2 separate regions of the Homo sapiens genome follow, and region 2 is linked to region 1. The links are contacts of gene promoters, found by promoter capture Hi-C in human tissues and cell types (Jung and others, 2019). All regions are on one chromosome and are shown on one strand. Each heading gives the region's core, a stretch centred on a gene start or on the middle of the fragment in contact. The rest is flanking DNA. Distances are from core to core; before and after follow the strand shown. Region 1 holds the start of LRRC15 (leucine rich repeat containing 15). Region 2 overlaps ATP13A3 (ATPase 13A3).

Region 1 (5,203 bases), core at 2,599-5,098:
ACACTTTGAGTTTCTTTTTTTGTTGGGTGGGGGAGAGTTGGGGTCTCACTATGCTGTCCAAGCTGGTCTCAAACTCCTGGCCTCAAGCGATTCTCTTGCCTCAGCCTCCCCAGTCACTGGGATTACAGGCGTGAGCCACCATGCCTGGGTTTTTGGATTTTGATAGCTATTGGTCTACCAGTTTATATTCCCATCAACAGTGTGAGACCACCGTCATCCTTACCAGCCCGAGGCATTCTCCATCTTTTTTATTCTGCCGCTCCAGCAGGGGACACAATGGTGTGGTCACAGCGTCCCCACCCCGAGGTGAACTGAGCAGGGATGCTAACGCCAGCTATGGAGGGTGCTGTGGAGGGGTTTGCCCCACCGAGGGGAGGCTGGGTCCCACGGCCTCCAGTGCCCGATTCTGTGCTTGTTAACTAGAATAGAGACACATGCGAGGGCGGGAGATAGCAGAGTTCCCTGAAGCCCTGGGGCGACCCCAGCTCTTCCGGTTCTCCCAGGGGGGCTGGAAAGTGAGCCCTGAGGTTACAGGGCCTGCGGGTGGTAAATCAGGCTTTCCCTTCCAATAATAATAGATGTCCCGTCCCTTCATTAGTGGAACGGAGCGGCTGTTCTGGGGGCTGCCTGGGGGCTGCCTTGCTTCCTCCGTAGGAGAAGGTGCTTCTCTGGGGAAGAGAGGGCCTCCATGTGTGGAAACCCGGAGTCCTGCAGCCCGATGTCCACGGCACCTCCAACCTGGGGAACTGCTCCTTCCTGCACGGCCTGGTTACGGTGTGGAAACCCATGCGCTGTCATGAAGGCCAGAGAGAGTTCTCTGTGAAGGCTGGAACCCCCCCACCCCCATAGCACACTTCCTACAGCATGGCTCCACCTGGGCCTGTCCCTCCTCCAAAACTCCTGGTGGCTCCCTACTGCCTCCAGAGGACTCCACTCTTCGGGATCATCCCAGTCCTCAGTGAGGCCCTGCCACACAGCCTGGGCTCTAGCCACATTCTCTCTCCTGCTCACTCTGACTGGATGGCTTTCCTTTACCCTCTCCCCTCACCTTCCAGGGTCTTGCTTTGTCACCGAGGCTGGAGTACAGTGGCGGGATCTGGGCTCACTGCAACCTCCGCCTCCTGGGTTCAAGTGATTCTCCTGCCCCAGCCTCCCAAGTAGCTGGGACTACAGGCGCCCGCCACCACGCCCGGCGAATTTTTTGTATTTTTAGTAGAGACAGGGTTTCACCGTGTTAGCCAGGATGATCTCGATCTCCTGACCTTGTGATCTGCCCGCCTCGGCCTCCCAAAGTGCTGGGATTACAGGCGTGAGCCACCGTGCCCGGCTGAGCCTGCTCATCTTTTAAGGTCACCCTCTGCATGACACCCCAGGTCCATCCCTTGAAATGCTCCCACATTCTCAAGCTTGCCCCGAGGAAGGATCTGTCAGTGACCTCACTCCTTCCATCTTCTCCCAGCCCCGCTCTGCGTCAGTCCGAACTTCCGTCCATGGGGGTTGTGTGCCCAAGCACAGGATCCAGTGGTGTGCAGATGGCATGGAGCCCACGGGCTAGGCTTGGACTCTGGCTCTGTCACTTAGCATATGGCTGCAGGGAAATTAGTTAACAGGCCTGGGCCTCAGTTTTTTTGTCTGTGAAATGGGGGTAATTACTGCCACTCATAGGACTATTTGGCAGATCAGTAGTTCTCAACCATGAATGTGTGTGTGTGTGTGTGTGTGTATGTGTTTGTGTAAACTCCCCCTTCCTGGGGACATTTGGCAATGTCTAGAGACATTTTGTTACTTTTGGATCGGGGGGTACTGCTGGCATCTAGAGGGCAGAGGCCAGGGATGCCATGGTGCCTCCCGCGACACGTAGAACAGCTCCTGCAATGAAGAATTATCTGCCTCCAAATGTCACGTGGTGAGGCCGAGAAAGCTGGTGGAGGTGAAATGATGGAGAGCTGCAGTGAGGTACCCAAGGGGTCTCTGGTTCACAGCAGGTGCTTCCCAAATAGCCATCTTTAAATGCAGCCGATTCATCCCTGTGTTGTCCACCACTCCCAGCACAGTGCCCGACACAGAGCGCTTGGGTGCTAGGATTAGGGAGGATGGAAGAGGAAAAAGAGGGATATTCTTATTCTTGTAGGTTCTATGGAAAGAAAGTTAAAGTGGCCAGGCGCGGTGGCTCACGTCTGTAATCCCAGCACTTTGGGAGGCTGAGGCGGGTGGATCACGAGAATCATGAGACCAGGAGATCAAGACCATCCTGGCTAACACGGTGAAACCCCATCTCTACAAAAAATACAAAAATTAGCTGAGCCTGGTGGTGCGTGCCTGTAATCCCAGCTACTCAGGAGGCTGAGGCAGGAGAATCGCTTGAACCCAGGAGGCGGAGGCTGCGGTGAGCCGAGATCGCGCCATTGCACTCCAGCCTGGGTGACAGAGTGAGACTCCGTCTCAAAAAAAAAAAAAAAAGAGAAAAGTTAAAGTACCTGATTTGGGAACGTGGAGGAATCAGGGCCGTAAGAGGGAAGGTGTTCTGCACGTGGGAACAAGGCTGGTGGGGGAAGGGATGGGGCTTCAAGCTGTGTGGAGCCACTCCAAGCAGTGCCTGCCCCTCCTGGGCTCCTGTTATTTAGTGGACAAGACACTTTTTGTTTCCGGCTCTGAATCACGGTGCCACAGTGAGGAGGAATGTGGCGTGATTCAGGCTGTAGGTCTTGACCATGACAAGCCACCCAAGCAACTATTTCAGTAATAACACTACGCACTTTTATATCTTCCTTTCATCGCAGATCTCAAAACACAGCGCAAATATTAATTAAGCCTCTTGGCACTCCATGAGGCACTGTGTGTAAATATCACTCTCCCCACTTAGCTGAGAGGGTAAACCGAGCCAGGCAAAGGCAGGGTGGCTTCAGCCTGGGGCAGCTCAGGCCTTGTTGAGGCTCCATCTCGGAGGAGAAGCCGGGGTTTGGAAGCCTTCCCGCCCCTCCAACTATGATTCCTGTATCCTCTTCCCCAGGCCTTTTTGGGGATACCACAAATAGAAACAGTTTTGTCCCCACTGGGGACGGGGGTAGAGAGGGCAGCAGTGTGTGGGCTGTAATGCAGAGGTGAGGGGCATAGGGAAGCTCCTCACGCCCAAATATGCCCCTTGATTGCCCGTCCCCAAGCCAGAGATGTGTGTGCCTGCACCTCTCAGAGCAGCAGTAATGGCAAAGACCCCAGCATCACAAGGAAATCGGAAATGCTGTTTTTAGAGGGGACACAGTGGTCGTAATTATATTTTTCCTTGGAATCTAAAGTAAATGCTTCTTCCAAAATGTTAACAACAGATGAAACACATTAATTGTCTGTAAATTTAAAGCCAAATAAAAAGTTTAAAATAAGAAAGAAAGAAAGAAAGAAAGAGAAGAATGAATAAGTTTTCTAGAACCACAGGGAGAAGCACTTGCCAATACTTCTAGGAGCAAAGAAACGCCCCTGAATCCTGCTCCATCCCTTTCTCGGGGTCCTTGTCTCCTTGGCCAGGGCAGGGCAGCAGGGGGTCCACAGTCACTTAGGGAGGGGTTTACCGGGTCGTTGTAAACTCCCCTCTCACGGTGGCCAATGCAGTGAAGGAATCCAAAAGATACACTGGGGGAAAGAAGGAAAGAGGAAAATGTGTCCTGAGTTTTTAAATACGGTTGAAGCAAACCCCTTACATTTAGGGATGCCAGCTATGTGTACCCTGTAGTGTCAGCCCGGGACATGCAGGCACTGCACTGTGGCCCACAGTCCCCCCTCCCAGGGCCAACACTGCCCTCTGCAGTGACTCACGCCCGGGATAGTTTAAATACCGGGACAGCTTAGGCGAGCCACACTCATGCTGCAGCCTTGAGCCGTCCCTCGTCCTCCTCTCAGGCTCCCTCTTGTCCACGGCGGGCGGGCGCCGAGCTGCTGGTAAGTAGGCAAGCCACCCCCATCCCTCCTCTCTGCTTAGAGGGCCCGGCCAGCCCCTTCCCATTTCTGCTGGACCTGCTCCCCTCGGAGACCCCAGAAGGGGCAGAGCTGACATGTGCCTGGGGATGCTCTCGGGACAGGGACAGAAGCAGCCTGTGCTGGAGGGGTGCAAGCCTGTCTCCCTCACTGCCTGGACACCAGGACCACCAGCCCCTCTGCTGATGCCTCAACAGCCTCTTATGCCCCTTGCCCTGAGCGGCTCATGATGTCAACCTGGGGTGCTGAGATGTCTGAGACCAGCAAGTTGGGCTGAAAGTGGACTAAATTATCACCCCCCTTGTCACTGGATTGACCGTTCTGGAATCTAGATCCACTGGGGGAAGAACTTCTCTTTTTAAGGTTCAGATTATTTGCGCCTGTGCCATCTTTCCTGGCACTTGCCCTGGTGGCTCCCAGTGGTCTGCCCCGCATTTGGTTCTGCCCAAGACCTTCCTTCATGGGGGTTTCCCAGGCAAGAGAGCTGTCTGCTTTGCATAGATGGATAACTCCTGCAAGTGTAACTTCAGCAGATGTGCTGGTCCCTGGTTTGCAGTTCCAATTTGGAATTCGGACATGGGCTCAGCATTGTTCAGGCTCTAACAGTGTGGCTTAGGGGACACTATGCTGGCAGTTTCCCCTCTCTCCTGCTGGAAGCGTCGGCCTCTGTGGAGCCTGGAGGCTTTGAGCAGGGAGTCAGGGCAGGAGATGGATTTGTGATGAGGTGGTATGTGGATTTGAAATTGTGACGGCTGCACCTTGACCCGTGTCTCTGCTCAAACGTAGAGGCAGGACCTGGGGCCAAGAAACCAACTGTGGAAAACCAGAGCTTTCAGGACTCTCCCACCCCTGCCAAAGTGCAAGAGCCATTCCACCTCCCGGGCCCAGGGCATCACCTCGGTGCAGCTGCACTCTCTCTGAGATGACACGTGTGCTCCAGTCGCAGGTGCCAGGTGCCTGTCTGCCACGTGCCAGCTTCTCCTTTGGGGTTATCTGGGATGCGTCACTTTACCTTGGGCAGCTCTCAGATGTGTTGCTGCCACTGGCTCCTTAATTTAGAAGTGCTCTAACGGCTGGCACTTCCTTCATTCTGCAGAGACTGAACATCTGGAGTAAATTCAGGGCCAGACAGCCCAATTTGCCTGTGGTCTTGAGTCAGCTGGGCGGGCTCAGCAGTGATGAGGCAGGCATGTGAGAGGGTTCGGGGCCAGGGTAAGTTCTGGATAGATTCGACAGA
Region 2 (4,885 bases), core at 1,511-4,010, 89 kb before region 1:
TATTCGTCCAAATGTACTGTGATACTCTCGATTATATTGTGCAACAGAAATAACATGTTAGTGGAAAACTAGTGAAATCCTAAAACTGAGTTTAGTTAATAGTAATACAGCAGTGTTAATCTATTAATTCTTAACAAATGTACCAGGAAATGTTAAAACATTAGGGGAAACTGCACAAAGGATGTACAGGAACTTCATAATATTTTTGCAACTTTTCTATAAATCTAAAATTTATTTCAAAATAAAATGTTTATTTAAAAAAAAAGCCCACCTCATAACAAGATAAATTCAAGAAGAATTAAAAAGATATGTAACAATGAAATTGCAAACATTCTAGGGAAGTGTACTAAATATGAATTTACTATATCAGTGGGAAAGAACGTATTAGGCATAAATTAAATATAAAATCAAAGTGTAAATACCAACAAATTTACTTAAAATATAACTGACAGTAAACTGGTCAGAAACAAAATTTAAAGGTAAATTATGGATTGGAAAATATTTACAGTTTATGTGACAAGACAATAAATACCTATCTGGAAAACAAAGAACTTTGGAATGTGTTTCTCTGCCATATCATTTTATCATTTGATAATTAATCATGTGATCGCTGTGTCCATGCAGGAGATTTATGGTTACAATTTGAGTCGCTGGAAGCTTGCCATAGTTTCTTTAGGAGTGATTTGCTCTGGTGGGTTTCTCCTCCTCCTCCTCTATTGGATGCCTGAGTGGCGGGTGAAAGCGACCTGTGTCAGAGCTGCAATTAAAGACTGTGAAGTAGTGCTGCTGAGGACTACTGTAAGTTTATGTGTTTACTTGTAGCTGATTATTTAAGGAGTAAAACAATGTCTTTGTGTATACTTTATTCGAAATAATAGATGAAGGGAACATCGCTGCCTGGATAAAATGAGGAATGCTAATTCTAGTATTTCTAGAGGATTTGTGTTTGAATTGACTATTATTATAATGATTAGAGTTTAAAGGAATCTTAAAGATGATCAGATTCACCCCCTTCCTTTCATCTCTCTTGTTGCCCTGAGAGATTAGCTACTTGTCTGTTACGGTGCTGGTCCATTAGGACTGTAGTCCAGATCTCGGTCACTAGGCCAGCTGCCTGTCTGCTGTGTGATGCTGATGCATTTCAGCCTTTTTTCTTTTTTAAAAACCCTAATTGGAAGCATTTTATAAGAGGTTTTAATATTTAGTCCAAATATAGAGACTAATTAAGGAATTACTCATGATATTTTATGAAGTATTGATGTGCTTATCGGTAAAATATGTCATAAAAACCATGAGCAATGGAAAGCACCTTATGTTTGAATTTAAGCATCCTCATGAAATGGTTTAATATTTAGTGAGTAGGCGTGATGTTTCCTCAATTAGAGATGAGGAAATAATGTCTTGTAAAGAATGGAAAATAAATGAAAATATAGGCAGTTTTCTATAAAATTGACTCCTTACCGTTATCCCTTTCTCTCTTTAAGGATGAATTCAAAATGTGGTTTTGTGCAAAAATTCGCGTTCTTTCTTTGGAAACTTACCCAGTTTCAAGTCCAAAATCTATGTCTAATAAGCTTTCAAATGGCCATGCAGTTTGTTTAATTGAGAATCCCACTGAAGAAAATAGGCACAGGATCAGTAAATATTCACAGACTGAATCACAACAGGTATTGTGATCTTAATGTCAAAGTTTCTTTAAAAATCAGAATTGTTACATTTTATGCTATCATGTATATTCTATAATTTTGTGTTTGCAGTTAATGCTTGAGATAAATTTACCTGCATATAAAATATTACATATTACTATATATAATGCTATATATAATCCTATATATAGCTGTTAATAGAAGTAACAGATTACATATCACAAGTGATTATATGCTTTTTGGTGTAACGTTTATTTGTGTTCCACAGATTCGTTATTTCACCCACCATAGTGTAAAATATTTCTGGAATGATACCATTCACAATTTTGATTTCTTAAAGTAAGTATCTTCCTTTTGTTTGGATTGTATTTTGAATATCCTGAAAACGTTCTAGATAGAAAAGAGTCCATTCTAGTATTCATAAAATTGCTGAGGTTTTATTTTATAATTTCTATTCACGTATTAATTAACAACTCCCTGTTGCTGTTTGAAGGCTCATTAGCCATTTTAAAATAAGTCCCACCGCAGCTTGCACCATGGCAGAGTTTACATGAAACTTAGAGTCAGTATGATGCCAAAGTCTACTGAGTCTGAGTTCTTACCTGTTTCACCTCAAAGTGATTTTGAGTATACCTCATAGCCTGTGTCTCAACTTAGAGTATCTGAATCATTACCTGTTGGTTTACTGACACTTAAAGCCTGTGGTACTTGAGGAGTAGAGTAATAGGCAAAGAGAAATTTAATTTTACTATGTAGATAAAGAATGGGGCAAGCTGTAGTAATTCCTTTATTTTTAATCGAGGATTTAAGTTATATAAGTACACATTAAGATTCTGTTTTTATTGCTCTTAAAATGATTATTATAAATACTCATTAATATCGTTGCTTTAGAGTGCCAAAGGAATTCTTAATTTTAGCGGTAAAAAGAAAATCATGTTATGAACATTTAAAATATTCATACCTGTAGGTTTCTATTGGAAGTAAAAAATAAAATATTCATACCTGGATTTTTTACTCAGATACACTAATGAATTGGAACATTCTGGAATGGGCATGGGCATTTTTACATGCCTAGTTTTAAAAACCATTCCTGATTAAGAACTATTGCCTTAAAGAAAATCAGGCCGGGCATGGTGTCTCATGCCTGTAATTCTAGCATTTTAAGAGGCCAAGGCGGGCGGATCACCTGAGGTGAGGAGTTCAAGACCAGCCTGGCCAACACGGTGAAACCCCGTCCCTACTAAAAATACAAAAAAAATTAGCCTGGTGATGGATGGCTATAATCCCAAATACTCAGGAGGTTGAGGCAGGAGAATCGCTCAAACCCAGGGGGCCGGAGGTTGCAGTGAGCTGATACTGTGCCACTCCGTTCCAGCCTGGGCCAAAGAGCGAAACTGCGTCTCATAAAAACAAAGAAAATTGCCAATGGGCTGTCATTTTGTTTAAAAAAAAAATTTTTTTTTTTTTTTGACTTGGCACTGGCCCCTGCTGCCTTCTGGAGAAGTCATCAAATTCAGTGGGAAGAAATGTCAAACATATTTACTGTGTGTCTTTTGCCAGCCATAGAAACTTAAAAATTTAAACTTACTCCATTGATTGAAGTGAATTATGAAGCTTAGCTTTCCTATGTGGAAAGTGTGGAAAAGGATTGGAATTAAGTATATGTAAGACTTTCTTTGCTTTAGAGTTATAGCTGGTATCTCAGTTAAAATAAGCATAATTAAGGCGGGGGGTGGTGGCTCATGCCTGTAATCCCAGCACTTTGGGAGGCCAAGGTGGGCGGATCACCTGAGGTCAAGAGCTTGAGACCATTCTGGCCAACGTGGTGAAACCCCTTCTCTACTAAAATTACAAAAATTAGCTAGGCATGGTGGTGTGTGCCTGTACTCCTAACTACTCAGGAGGCTGAGGCAGGAGAATGGCTTGAACCCAGGAGGCGGAGGTTGCAGTGAGCCGAGATTGTGCCACTGCACTCCAGCCTGGCGACAGAGCAAAACTCCATCTCAAAAAAAAAAAAAAAAAAAGCATAATTAAGATATTTTGGGAAAAAGTAGATGTGTTAGTTGAAGCCCACTTAGAATTATTACAGATTTTAGGCATTGTCTGTGACTCATAAATTCTGCACTTCAAACCAGGTATGCATTTAGGGAAGGGTTTGGCTTGATGCTTTTATGGAGATGGAAGAAAATGAATAGAAATTCTTAATTTGACTCTAAAATTGAAAAGGAGAAACTATGTAGCTAAAAAGTAAAATGTTTTCATCTTTGGTTTAGAATTCTCAAGTTATACTTTATCTTAAAATTTTAAAGTTTAATTTTAGCTATTACAGCTTTGGCACAGTCTTAAGGATAATGATATTATTATATAAATTTGAGTATTTAGAGCCATCTCATCTATCCTGCAATAAACATATTGAATAGCTTCGAAGTTGGGTTTGAGACTTAGATTTGTCATTGTTTATCTTAAGAATTTGAGATTTAAAAATTCTCATTTGTTATCTCAATTTTTGTTAAGGGTTTCTAAGGATTTGTAAGGAAGTCACACCTTTATAAAATCAGGCATATAGAAAAATGAGGCGTTAAGAAATTTGGATATTTTAAACTTTGTTTAAAGTAAAAACTTTGGATTTATTTAGGGGACTGGATGAAGGTGTTTCTTGTACGTCAATTTATGAAAAGCATAGTGCAGGACTGACAAAGGGGATGCATGCCTACAGGTAATTTTTATCCAACTAAAGTTAGATCTTCTCAAAATTCCTAAAAGCAGTAGTATACATAATCAACCCTTTACCATATAGTTGTACATATTAACAGATACTTAAATATTACAGACATAGTAGTTGAGAATTTATTGATGTTTTATTTGGGTAAGACTGTCTTAGTTTAAGAATTATAAAAATGTGCAAGCTGATATTTTGAAGTTGGTATCCCTGAAATTATACCATATTTCATCAGTTCCCAGGTGCACGTTTTTCCACCTTTTAACATCTCTGAGATTGGGATGTGTCATAGAGTTGGTGAAGTGTCGTTCTTGATAGCATTTTTATCTTTCTTGATCATATAATAATGGTATGCCTTACAATTGATAGCACCTTAGATTTTCTGAAATACAAGCATGAGTTCAAATTCACCGTAATGAAAGATTGTAAATTGGGAGACATAATCTCCTTCATTGTGTTATTCCTTGTTAAATCATAAAAATACACCAGTGTATTGCGTATGTTAAAGATAAATGCCACT

The links. The method cuts DNA at HindIII sites, captures the fragments that hold promoters and counts their contacts. A contact is called where the count stands out against the background at its distance.
Region 2: a fragment that was not itself captured here is called in contact with the fragment with the promoter of LRRC15 in region 1 in 2 of the 25 tissues and cell types used here (mesenchymal stem cells and thymus).

What each region holds. Positions count from the first base shown.
Region 1 is chr3:194,368,388-194,373,590 of GRCh38, reverse strand. LRRC15 (leucine rich repeat containing 15) reads left to right here and starts at 3,848. Exons shown (of 2, transcript NM_130830.5): 1 at 3,848-3,930. RefSeq lists an enhancer at 3,425-4,389. The HindIII fragment of the contact is 13,291 bases long and covers 1-5,203 here.
Region 2 is chr3:194,456,571-194,461,455 of GRCh38, reverse strand. It overlaps ATP13A3 (ATPase 13A3), which reads left to right. Exons shown (of 34, transcript NM_001367549.1): 4 at 625-798; 5 at 1,485-1,667; 6 at 1,915-1,985; 7 at 4,282-4,362. Among named protein-coding and RNA genes, the nearest start is that of ATP13A3, 28 kb to the left of the region's middle. The HindIII fragment of the contact is 3,288 bases long and covers 1,117-4,404 here.